Regions from separate parts of the Homo sapiens genome. Here region 2 is linked to region 1. The links are contacts of gene promoters, found by promoter capture Hi-C in human tissues and cell types (Jung and others, 2019). All regions are on one chromosome and are shown on one strand. The core of a region is centred on a gene start or on the middle of the fragment in contact, and the rest is flanking DNA. Distances in the headings are between cores, read along the strand shown.

Evidence for each region. The method cuts DNA at HindIII sites, captures the fragments that hold promoters and counts their contacts. A contact is called where the count stands out against the background at its distance.
Region 2: a fragment that was not itself captured here is called in contact with the fragment with the promoter of CD59 in region 1 in 1 of the 25 tissues and cell types used here (lymphoblastoid cells).

What each region holds. Positions count from the first base shown.
Region 1 is chr11:33,735,112-33,737,819 of GRCh38, forward strand. CD59 (CD59 molecule (CD59 blood group)) reads right to left here and starts at 1,312. Exons shown (of 4, transcript NM_000611.6): 1 at 1,271-1,312. RefSeq lists a silencer at 961-1,430. The HindIII fragment of the contact is 16,078 bases long and covers 1-2,708 here.
Region 2 is chr11:33,181,058-33,183,765 of GRCh38, forward strand. All of the region lies in intron 1 of CSTF3-DT (CSTF3 divergent transcript), which reads left to right. Among named protein-coding and RNA genes, the nearest start is that of CSTF3-DT, 21 kb to the left of the region's middle. The HindIII fragment of the contact is 5,099 bases long and covers 1-2,708 here.

The DNA of each region.
Region 1 (2,708 bases), core at 62-2,561:
AGCCACATTTTGGCAAACGTTGCCATCTCCCTCAACATTCGGGGCTCTGTGCCTTCTTCAGGGAACTGGGAGTAAACCGCCAGGAGTGGAGAACTTGAACAACTGCTCAGGGATCGCAGGGTACCTGAAATAATTAGCAGCCGCCGCGTTTGTGCTGAGCGCTTTCCGTCAATCATCTCAACCACCCTGTGAAGTGAAGCCTATTGTTTTACCCATCAAGTGCTGTTAAATACTTCCAGAAATGACCAGTGAAGAGCCTGGGTATCACTAAACGGCCATAAAAGGCACACTGCTTAATGTTGGTTTTTTTTGTTTGTTCTTTGTGGGTTTTGTTCGTTTTTGAGGCGGAGTCTCGCTCTTATTGCCCAGGCAGTAGGGCAATGGCGCGATCTCGGCTCACCGCTACCTCAGCCTCCCGGGTTAATGTTGTTTTTTGAAAAGTCAGCAGTCAGACTCTAAGAAGGGTGCGGCCCGAGCCGACCCAAGAAAACAAAACATCACGTTGTACTTAAAACGTCCGTTTCGGCCGGGCGCGGTGGCTCACACCTGTAATCCCAACACTTTGGGAGGCGGAGGCGGGCGGATCACGAGGTCAGGAATTCAAGATCAGCCTGACCAACATGGGAAAACCCCGTTTCTACTAAAAATACAAAATTTAGCCAGGCATGGTGGCGCATGCCTGTAATCCCAGCTACTCAGGAGGCTGTGGCAGGAGAATCGCTTGAACCCGGTACACGGAGGTTGCGGTGAACCCAGATCGCGCCACTGCACTCCAGCCTGGGCAACAGCGAAACTCCATCTCAAAAAAAAAAAAAAGTCCGTTTCGCCCGACACCTGCTTTTCAAAATTACACATTTAGACCGCGAGGGGAGAGAGGAACTGCCGTGACCACGGAGGGCTGGCCTTTCCCCCGGCGCAGTTTCTCTGGACCGCTAGAGCTTCCCTTGAGACGAAAGCGATGGCAGGGGCCCGGGTGCGAGGCTGCCCCCGAGGGAATGGGGGGCGCGACGGGGGTAACGGGGCTGCTTCTGGGAGAGGGCGCGCTCCCCGTTTCTCCTTCCTCGTAGATAAAATGAAGCCAGCGTTCGGCTAGGACACCGGGCCGCGGTGACGGGTTGGAAGGGCCAGGCCTCGGGAGGCTCGCCCGGCAGGGGTCGAGTGGAAAGCGAGGACGGGGGTAGCCCCCACAGACCCTCCGCCCGGGCCCAGACTGCCGCCGCCACCTCGGCTCGGCTCACCCAAACCCCAGCAGGCCTTCGGGCCTTCTTACCTGGCGGCGCCCAAGATCCTCTTCCAGCCTCGAGCCGCTTCTGCGCTCAGCCCCCGCATTCTTTCGCTCCAGCCCGCAAGGCTCCGCCCCCCGGCCCCGCCCCTCAGGATGCCCTTGCCCTCCCAGGCTCCCGGCTCCCGCACCGCGCAGCCGCACCTCGGCAGGAACCTCCTCCTCTCCCTCCACCCCCGCGCGGAGCTCAGCCTCCTGGCCCAGGTTCTGAGAAGGCCGGGTGGCCAGGACCCAATGAGCACCTTCAAAACCCCAGGGAACTGAAAGTTTGGGGCGTCCTCCTCGGATTTGCTATGGGACATAAAAACAGTAGGAAACTTCCAAAGACTTCTGATTTTCCCTTTTACTTTTTTTTTAAGTATATTAAAATGTTTTTCAAAACGTTTCTGTGCGTCTTGCTGGTGCCCTGGGTGCCCCAGGGCCTGGCTATCGGGCTATGCGGCCCTGCTGCAGTCTGAAGCTGCTTCCTACTGCGAGGCTTGGGCAGCATCCAAATAGCCATCAGCCACAGCCGCATCCGTATCCGTGCCTTGTGACTTGTTTGAGACCCAAACAAAATGTTATGCGTTTAAAAGCTTACTGGGCTGCTCGGGGACCAGTGTTTTGAATGAACCTCTTCGAGTGTCTCTATCAACTTAGCTGGTAGCTACTGTTCCCCAGCAGCCACCAGAGGCAGGGACAGAAGAGCAAGACCAGGGGATCCGCCTGCATGAGTCTGTCCCTTCAGGGTGGCCTCGCCTCAGGGACTGGATTGTAGGCATGGTTTCAATAACACAGCGGTGTGAAAGTTTAAGAGTTTTTAGTACTTACGGACCCTGGGTGGTACACAGCTTGCCTAGAGGACACACACACACACACACACACACACACACACACACACACGGAGATCAGGGAGAACAGGGAGAGGGAAGGGAGGAACGGACCTTTGGGCCAGCAACTTTATCCAGTTAGGTTTCCTCTGGAGAGCTCTAACTGGTGGATTTAAAAGCAAGCAGGTGAAAAGGCAGAGGTGGGAGGAACTTGAACCAGAGTTTGAAGCTGCAGTAGTGCCCTGTTATCACATCACTGCATGTTTATCTCTGGCCACCAGCTAGAGCCATTTGCGTGGGGTATAGTACTGGAAACTGTCAATGGTGACTGAGACTTGCTTCTGTTATTAAAAGTTAAACATATTCAAAAATGGATGCTGAGGTAACAAAAAATTATAAGCACTCACCAGAACCGCAACCACCATTTGGAACATTAGTTTTATGTGCAGATGTAATTAGAAGTTTCCATTTGCTATTATATTTGGAAAGTGTCCCACTCACTGCAGAACTGACTGTAAGAACGCCATAGGAGGGAGGGTGGGGCTACAGGCCAAAAGTACAAGTCTTCCTCCAAGAGGATGGCCTCTGTTAGAAAGCATGAGACACACTTTGAGGGT
Region 2 (2,708 bases), core at 142-2,641, 550 kb before region 1:
CTTAGGTAAATAACCTGTTCTAGTTGTAGGAGTCCCAGACATTCCAGCTCCCACCACACCCATGTGGACTCACATGGAGGTCTCTGCCCAACGCTGAGTCGCAACTGCCACATTCAGGACACATGTCTCCAACACTTACATAAAGGACTTTTAGGCTGGGCGCAGTGGCTCACACCTGTAATTAGCCGGGTGTGGTGGTGGGCGCCTGTAGTCCCAGCTACGCGGGAGGCTGAGGCAGGAGAATGGCGTGAACCTGGGAGGCGGAGCTTGCAGTGAGCTGAGATCGCGCCACTGCACTCCAGCCTGGGGGACAGAGCGAGACTCCGTCTCAAAACAGCAACAACAACGACGACAACAAAAAAAAACTACAAAAATTAGCTGGGCGTGGTGGCACACTCCTGTAGTCTCAGCTATTCAGGAGGCTGAGGGAGGAGAATGGCGTGAACCCGAGAGGCGGAGCTTGCAGTGAGCTGAGATCACGCCACTGCACTCCAGCCTGGCGGACAGAGCAAGACTCCGTCTCAAAAAAAAAAAAAAAAAAAAAAAAAAAAAACCGGCTTTCAACTGAAATCATAGAAGACCACCTTTTTATAGCCTCCAAAGTAATCATTGATCCATACAATAATCATCAATAAATACTAAAACTATTATGTGAAATACTGTTGGGGAACAGGATACTCATAGTTTCCAAGTATCACTCCACAGAATATTTCTTAATTACAAAGGAAAAACATCTTTATGTCAGAGAAATCCAGGAGGACCTTAGCTGAATGTACAAAGTTTGTTTTTTGGCTCTTCTTGTTGTAGTTTTTAAGACAGAGTCTCGCTCTGTTGCTCAGGCTGGAGTGCAGTGGCATGATCTCCGCTCACTGCAACCTCCGCCTCCTCGATTCAAGCCATTCTCCTGCCTCAGTCGCCCAAGTAGCTGGGATCACAGGCGTGCACCACCAGGCCTGGCTAATCTTTGTATTTTTGGTAGAGACAGGGTTTTGCCATGTTGGCCAGGCTGGTCTAGAACTCCTGGCCTCAAGTGATCCGCCCACCTCAGCCTCCCAAAGTGCTGGGATTACAGGAATGAGCCACTGCACCGGCCTGAACAAAGTTAATGAAGCAAACTGACATGCTGTGCCCCTTGTGTTGGGGATCCCTAAGATCAACCTCAGGTTTGATGATTCACTAGAAGTACTCAAAAAACTCAAAAAAAACCTGTTCTGCTCACAGCTACAGTATCTTACAAAGAAAGGGCACAGATTTAAATCAGCAAAGTGAAAAGGTGCATGAGGTTAAGTATAGGAGAAATCAGGGGCAAGCTTCCAGTTGTCCTCTCCCAGTGGGGCCACACAGACTGTACTTAATTCTCTCAGCAACTATGTGTGACAACAGGTGTGAAGACTGCTGTCCAAAGAAGCAGACCCAAGCCCCTTGGTCCTCAGGATTTTCACATAAGCATGTGTTGTCCATGTGGCTGACTTTAGCTGTCCAGTCTCCAGACCTCGAGAGGTCAAACTGATATAGCATGGTCCAGGACCCCAGGCATAGAAAAACAGGTGTTCACGGTAAGTCAGATCGTTAGCACAAACTAACTGATCAAACAAATAATTTGGCCCAGGGCCTAAGGCATATAGAAACACTCTTATCAGGCAGGATAATTGCTCAGAGGTTACCTTCCAGCAGCAGGTCAAGGTCCAGTCCTTTCTTGGGGATGTTTGAACAGTCCAAGCCTCCTGAGTTAACCCCTTACAGAACACTCCCTGATATGAAAAGGGCACAAATCAACAATGTAGTATACTGCAAAAATATCTTATCTAGATATAACAATGAGGAAACCATTAGAGATCCCAGGATTGATCAGCTTGGCAAAACAATTGTCCTGACTCTTTAAAAAAATGTCAATTATGGAAAACAAAAACAAACAAAAAAAAGGGGGCAACTTTTCTAGATTAAAGGGCAACTTTTCTAGATTAAAGGAGACTTCTACTTTTTATTTCTATGGTTTTGACTGCTTGAGATACTTCATATGAGTGGAATCATAAAGGGAGTGTCTTAAGTAACATGACTATGGGAGATGGGACAAAACAAGAGGCACTTGGATTAATTTAATAAGTGTCCTGTTGAATTTAAGAATATAATGTTTGACACATGCACAAGCAGATCAGTAGCAGACTTAGGGAATTACTATTAGGCATATTTCACTTAGCATTATATCCTTGAGGTTCATCCATGTTGCAGCACGTGACAGGATTTTTAGTTGATCCTAGAACTAGTTCCTCATCTTTTTTTTTTTACATAGCACAATGTGTGATCCTTCACAGATATTCCATTCTATGTGTGTATCACATTTTCTTTTTCCGTTCATCTGTCAATGGATACTCGTGTTACTTCTACCTCTCGGCTACTGTGAACAATACCAGGATGAATATGGGTGTGCAAATATCTCTTCAAGACTGCTTTCAGAGACGAGGCACAGTGGCTCACTCCTGTAATCCCAGCACTTTAGGAGGCTGAGACGGGTGGATAACTTGAGCCCAGGAGTTTGAGACCAACCTGGGCAACATGGCAAAACCCGTCTCTACAAACTCAGGAGCTGATCCTGGGGAGGTCAAGGCTGTAGTGAGCCGTGATTGCACCACTGCACTCCAGCCTGGGCAATGGAGTGAGAGCTTGTCTCTAAAATAAATACATAAATAAATAAAGGACCCTGCTTTCAG